Regions from separate parts of the Homo sapiens genome. Here region 2 is linked to region 1. The links are contacts of gene promoters, found by promoter capture Hi-C in blood cells and fetal thymus (Javierre and others, 2016). All regions are on one chromosome and are shown on one strand. Each heading gives the region's core, a stretch centred on a gene start or on the middle of the fragment in contact. The rest is flanking DNA. Distances are from core to core; before and after follow the strand shown. Region 1 holds the start of CD2AP (CD2 associated protein). Region 2 overlaps SAYSD1 (SAYSVFN motif domain containing 1).

The links. Contacts are between HindIII fragments. The CHiCAGO score rates a contact against its expected background, and 5 or more counts as called.
Region 2: a contact is called between a fragment that was not itself captured here and the fragment with the promoter of CD2AP in region 1, in 1 of 17 cell types (non-activated CD4 T cells). The highest score is 6.9, in non-activated CD4 T cells.

Annotation. Positions count from the first base shown.
Region 1 is chr6:47,475,940-47,479,481 of GRCh38, forward strand. It overlaps CD2AP (CD2 associated protein), which reads left to right and starts at 1,850. Exons shown (of 18, transcript NM_012120.3): 1 at 1,850-2,309. The coding sequence starts at 2,306. CD2AP-DT (CD2AP divergent transcript) reads right to left here and starts at 2,133. Exons shown (of 1, transcript NR_187257.1): 1 at 1,304-2,133. RefSeq lists a silencer at 1,612-2,121 and an enhancer at 2,408-3,134. The HindIII fragment of the contact is 1,754 bases long and covers 1,081-2,834 here.
Region 2 is chr6:39,111,294-39,114,689 of GRCh38, forward strand. All of the region lies in intron 1 of SAYSD1 (SAYSVFN motif domain containing 1), which reads right to left. It also overlaps the pseudogene ANKRD18EP. Among named protein-coding and RNA genes, the nearest start is that of SAYSD1, 2.2 kb to the right of the region's middle. The HindIII fragment of the contact is 3,021 bases long and covers 39-3,059 here.

The DNA.
Region 1 (3,542 bases), core at 600-3,099:
CCCTTCTGTTTTACTTAACTTCTTTTCCATTCTATTCATTGGCCTTTCTTCTTTAAATATTAAGGATTCTAGAGACCTAGAAATTTAGTCTCTAGAAACTTAAGGGCTCTGGGCCTTGAATTTACTACCTATGTATGTGCTTCCAATAGCTTATATTTTTGTCTCCTTTCATGAATCCTTCTTAGCCCATCACCAGCCTCATTCTTCCAAATCGTAAATGGCCTTCCTTATGGGCTGCTTGAGCCACACACATTTCTTAAAGGCTCAGAAATACTCTGTTTGCATATCCACTTCCATTCCTCAGTTCTAGGACTCCTCCAGACTGAATTATTGCCTTCCCCAAGCTTTCGTTCAACTCATACCTTCTCTTTACAGCTTGCTTTGCCCACAGTAATTTATTTTCCTTTAAATTCTCAAGCATTTGACCCTCACTACCTCATACTGTTAATTAACTTTGTGTTCGTATCTCACCCCCCTAGAAGAATGCAAAATCTCTGAGGATTAGCGCTGTACTTTAGCTTTTTATTTTTTTGCTTGGTAGGGGACAACGAACATAATGCTGAACACATATTTGTTACCTAAAAAAGGCACATGTTCCATGATGTCAATGTAATCTTGTTTAGGTGAGTATATTCAACTTTTTTCTTTTATCCTTTTTGGCTGCTGTTTGTGAGTTTGATCATTCTTGTTATAAAATTACCACATGTAACCTTTTGAGAAGCATTAGAAGAATTAAAAGATGGCAAAAGCAGGCCTATAGGAAATAGTGGTAATGGATACGTCCAAGGTTACTACTATGGGCCACTGTGCTCTGCATTGCAAGATTTGTTTGAACATACTCAAGAAATTGAAGTTCAGACAGGTTAATTTATCCAAGGTCCCACAAAAAGTAAATGGCTGTGCTGAGTTTCAAGGACCCATGTCTGCCTGGATCCAAAGGGCAAGTCAGTTTCAGTGCTGGATGACTGAGAATTACAAAATTTCTTGAAAAAGCACTAGGCACAATAGTTGGCGTTCAACAAACGCTCACACACACATCTGCCCTGGAATTGGGTCTACTTAAACAGAAGGGGGAAAAAAAGCTTGCTGAAATAATTATACTTCTTCGTAACTACCAAGCTCATGTTTGACTGACTATAGTAATCCTATGCCCTCCTTCACATTGACGCTAGAAAAAATGCCTGGCAGTATTTCAAATCATGATGCCTATTTTTCTCTCGATCAAGTAACAACTCAAATTATACTTTAAAAAGAAAAAAAGCAAATTATAAAGTTGCATTCAGCTGACAAGAGACTAAAGGAATCTGTGAAACAGAATTTATTTGATGCCTAGGTTTCTCCCTCACCCGACGAAGACCAAATGCTGCTGATCCGTAAGTAACTTCGCAAGGTAAACTGAGGGGCCTGGCAGCATCTGGGCCTCCCTTAAAGGTCGAAATCAAGTGCGCTCGCCCTCCTTCTGTCCGCCTTTTCCCTTTAAGGTCCTCGAGGCTGCTTCGCTGCAGAAAGTAACTCCGCGTCGCCGCCGCGGAAAGTGGGGCAACTTTGCCTATCAGCAGAAACCTTTTGATCCATCTGAGGCGACAAACCAGACCAAACGCCCGCCCAAGCTGTTCCGAGCCTCCGGGGGGAGAGCGAGCCCAAGCTCCTCTGCACCGCTTCCTCATCCGCTCGCTGCACCTGGACGCGGTCGGCGCGCGACCCCCGGCCGTGACGTCACCGCACCTGGCAGCAGCCGTGGGGACCGGGAGAGAGCCCGAACGCGACGGGGCGGGGTGGGGCGGGGAGAACGAGGGCGTTCTCGCGAGATTTGCCTCCTCCCGGTCCCAGCTCCCCGCACCTTCTCGGCCTCTGTCTGGGTCCCCACCTTAGTCTACGGTGTCGCCTTTTCTAACTGCGAGTGCTAAGGAAGAGGCGAGGGGCGGGCTCCGAGGCTAGGCGGGCGCTCGGGGTTGGAGCCGAGGGTCTGGGCAAACCGGTGGGTCCCTCCCCACTGCGGGAGCGGCCAGGGTGGGAAAACCGCGGTCGGGCGGGCGGGGTAGGGCCCTCCCGCCGCCGTGGCTCCTGGGGAGGCCAGGGGTGAGGAGCTGTCGCCGCCTTTGCCTCTGCCTCGAGGGCCGCGCTGAAGAGACTGGTAGGAGAGCGCCGCGGGCGGATGGAGGCGACTCTTCGCCCCGCCTGAGCTCAGGAGGGGCTAGCGCGGAGCGCGGGTCCCGCCTCCAGCCGCGGGAGCGGCCGCGCGAGCCACCACTGGAGGAGGAGGAGGAGGAGCGGACGTCGGCTTCTCCCCGCGGGAGCCCCCAGCATGGGTAAGAGACTCGGGCGCTTCCCGCCGCCCGTCCGGACCTTCCAGACCCGGGGAGGCTGTGCCCTTTCTCGGCCTTCTGGGGAGGCGACTGCGGTCAGCCCCTGAGCGGCAGCACCCCACCCTCTCCATTCTCCCCACCGCCCCTTCTTGCCCTGCCTTCCACCTTGCTCTTCTCACGGAGAAACTGGTGGGAGAGCTCGCGGGTGCTTTCCCTCGCTCTCCCTTCTCCGCCTCTTTTCCTGTTCACCAGAAAGGTGCGGGATGGGGGGCGGGGGCGCCTGGCCACCTCTGCTAACCCCTTGCCCAGCTAAAATCAGACCTGACCTTCCTTCCCTTCCTCATCCCCTTGCTTCCCTCCCCCTCCTCGTGGGATGGGGGAGGGCGATCGAAAAACTTGATAAAGTAGCACTTTCAACTTCTTTATTTTCTGCGAGGCTTTGAATACGTTTAAGGAGAGAGATAAATTTGTTCAAAAACTTTTTTTTTTTCCTGCTGAAACTCGCAAGGGGTGCCTCAAGGACAGGAAAGCTTGAGTATTTGTTTTACTCGGGTTCTACCTAGGCAAGTGTGTTGGCACCTAAGCATTCAGTGTGCTCCCGAGGACTGGGTTTGGACTTCAGTGTTGGATCCTTTGAGGAGCAGTTTCCTGTTTGGAGTTAGACTTCCTTGCCGGAGGAGAGAAAAATACAAGGCCTTATATGTTATTTACTATGTGCTTTATAGTTTTGTTTGAAGTTAGAGAAGGCAGAATGTGTGGCAGTCCGGGTTGAAAAGGAGTTTTGTTAAGTGGTGTAACAATTTCTTTTGATAACAAAGTTCGGTGTGGGCTAGGCATTAAACTAACTCCCTCAATCCTTTAAAAATTAAAAGCAACTTAAGAATAGCTTACAAAAAACAAAACACCCTGTGTCTCTATAAGGCAGAACGTGTTCTGTAAGAGTAAACCCAAGTTTGATTTTTGTAGAGCAAATCAGGAGGACCCTATCACTTTTTGCAGTTGAGAGTTGGTACTGCTTCATATCAACAAACGATCACCGAAATGAATAATTCATGTAATTAACAAATGATTTAGAAGCAGGACGAATACAGACTACTGCTGATGTGGCACCCTCTGTCCACACTTTGCTTTGTGGGGGATGTTTTGAGCATATTGTTTATAGACACTCGCCTAGCTATCCTCTGTTTTCTTAGACTTTTCTAATTTTATGTTCCCTTCTCCACCTCCCTCCTTTCA
Region 2 (3,396 bases), core at 299-2,798, 8.4 Mb before region 1:
ACAAGAAGTACAAGTGACATCAGAGGAAGAACAGGAAAAGCTTGAAAGTGAAAATAAACAGCCACAGGTTGAAGAAGCTAGAAAGAAGCACGAAAGTTAAAAAAAAAAAGTATCAAAAAAACGTATATGATAGTACATCTGCTGACGATGATGATAAATTAATTCAACAAAGAAAGAGTGGAAAAACTTACCATCAGCGATTTCCTAGGAAGGAGAACAAAGAGTATGCTAGGCCTGCAAAGAAAATGTCAAATGAAAAGAAAAAGGTCAAAAAGCAAACTCATTTAGAGATGAACCTGATGACTTAACTCGGCCCTCTGAAACAGCTTCAGAGGATCATGAGAAACCTTACCCTCATTGTAAGAAGTTTATGATGCTCATTAAGCAATATGGAATGGATTGTAATGATTCTCGTATCCTAATGGAAGTCCAGAATGCATTTCTTTCATGTGAAAAGTCACTGGACCTTAAAAAAAATTATCTGTGAACAACTTACACTAGACAATAAGAAATATGAAAACTGAGTTTAGTGTACTGAAGGAGCTATCCAAAACACAAGAAACGAAGTCACAGTTCAATATCAAAAAGTAGAATGGAAACAGGAACTCTACAGTTTGCAGCTTAGAAGAAGATGAGAAGAAATGCTAATATGTTATATGAAAAAATTAGGGAAGAGTTAGAAAGGAAAGTGGAGCAACATAGGAAAGAAGTTGAAGTAAAAGAACAGCTTAAACTGACTATCGGATCACTAGAAATAGAATTGAAGGCTTGAAGAAATACTTTAAGAAAAAAAAAGATCTGATGCATGAAAATTGCTTGTTGAAGAGAGATATTGCCTTTATTGTGTATGTAAGTATACACAATAAAAAATAGGAACCTCGAAAGGGAAAAAGGACATTGAAATTGTTAAAGAAATGAATGATGACCTTCAAGAGACTATAAAACTGAATGGAAAAACATTAACAAAAACAGTATCCCAGTATGGTCAACAGCTTAACGACCTCAAAACTGAGAATACAATGCTCAAGTCTAAACTGGAGAAGGAAAATCAAAACAAGGAAAGACTGGAAGCTGAAGTTGAGTCATTCCATGCTAGACTGGCTGCTGCTATAAGTGAGTGTGATCAAAGTGTGAAAACAAAAAGAGACCTAGAACTTGCTTTACAGAGAGCACAAGACGTTTCTTTACAAGAAAGAAAATGAGTTCTGATATTTCTGAACTAAAAGATAATAATGAGTTTTTAACTGAGCAACTTTCCGAAGCTCGAATTCAATACCCTAAAAAGTAAACTCCATGACACAAGAAATTCTCTCAGAGAAAAGGTTTTGGTTTTATAAAGTGTACAAAAGGACCTAAGCCAAGTAAATCCTTTGGAAAGTGGGACTACGTAGAGGAGAGAATATCTCAACTACAACATGAAAATCTGTTGCTTCAACAACTAGATGGTGCTCATAAGAAAGGGGATAATGAACAAAAGGTAATTAATATCCAAGGATGCTGTCTTGAGAGTGAAAAGGAAGGTCTTCTGCTAGAAGGGAAAAATAAGGAATTAATCAATGAATGCAATCATTTAAAAGACTGTTTCAGTATGAAAAAGAGAAAGCAGAAGGAGAAGTAAGTATCAAAAAAGATAAATATTTTCAAACTTCCAGAAGGAAAATTTAAAATATTTGGCTACGGCTACATGTTGAACCTAGTTGAATATAAAAATTAATAGACAAAAAATGTGTTTACCATACTGTATAATTCCATTTACATGAAACATCCGGAAAAGACAAATGTATAGATAGAAAGCAGACTGACATTTGTGCGGGGCTGGGGTTGGAAATGGGTAGTAACTGCTAATGTGCAAGAGGGGTCTTCTTGGAGTGATAGAGACGTTCTAAAGTTGCAGTGATGGTTGCATGACTCAATAAATTTACTAAAAATCTTTGAACTGTATGTTAAAAGAGATAAATTCTGTAGTATGTAAACCTTATTTCAATAAAGCTGTTTCAATTAAAAAAACAAAAATTAAAAATAATTTAAAAAAATAGAATGCTAAAGAAATCTCTGACAGGCCACAGTGTGCCATCAAAATTGTCTGACATGAATTGTAAATTAGACTTTTTCTTTTCTAAACTAGAGGCAGAATCTGAAGAAAAAAAATTAAATGAGAATTTTCACACCAGAGCAAACCCAGAAATGATAAGTCAATGAAAATGAGCTTAAGGCAGAGTCCCTTATGGAAAAACAGAGCAATTAACAAGAAACTGGAGGTCCAGCATTTCCTCTCATCCTTTTGTCTGGCAATCAGCGTTTGGGTTCTCAATAATGGAAGTTTTTCTCTGAATTCAGTTTCTCTGGGTCCACCTCAATGATCTCATTCCTTTGGAAATGAGACATACAGTCAAAAGTTCATTGCATGGGTTAGACATTGTTTTTTAACTGCAGAGAGAAAAAGAATAAGGGAAATGGTTTCTAAAATCTTAAGCAAGTGTTGTACTTAGAAAGTTCTAGTCAACAATAAAATTATCCAAAGACAATTAACACAAACTGCACACAAGGAAATGGATTGTCTGAACTCTGCTGCGCTCTTTTCACCTTTCTGCAAGTCAGCTGGAATCCTGTATATCACTGAGAATATCAAATCAAAATTGAGTAATAGGTTCAGTAATTTTTAAAAATTCCCTCAAATCAAATGTTGTGCAATAATAGATGAACTTACAGGAAATAATTTTAAGGTGAGCAAGGTACACTTTTCTTCCAGTATATTTTCATTTTAAAAGGAATTTTTTAGTTCTTATTGCACTTATGAGGAACAAAGCACTGGGCACAAATTGTTACAAAGCACTCATCCCTTGATATGTTTTGTCTTGTATTTCCACATAGACATTTCAACCTCACTGCAAGCCACCTTACCATTTTACTGAGTTAAAACTAAATGAAAACACAAAAGGATGCAAATTAAATTCATCTGCAAAACAAGAGATTACCAAAACAATTAAATGTGAAAAGGTTATCATACTAAATCACTTTTTTTTGTTTGTGTCTTGAACATTCACTATGGAACTGGAATAAGCTTCTGCCACTACCGGCAGTTACAGCTACCACACTTTGGTAAATTCTGTATTCAAACGCATTTCTAAGTCACAGGCTATCTGGGCTACTAGCTGCATGTGCCCCAGGTGCGAATCAAATGAAGTTTTAATTACTGCTACTTGTGATCGGTATCCAATTAGACCTTTTACCCTCCTCCATTAGCAGAGGGCTGTGGCTCAACTTGGTTGTGGAGAGGTTTCCCAATGCCACAGGGCGTCACGATAACTCAATTCGGAGTGAATAATTTAAGAGCAGAGGTGCTTTCTCCCAGGACCCTCGACTCTCGCTGGAATCAGGACCTGCGTGGGTCGCGGG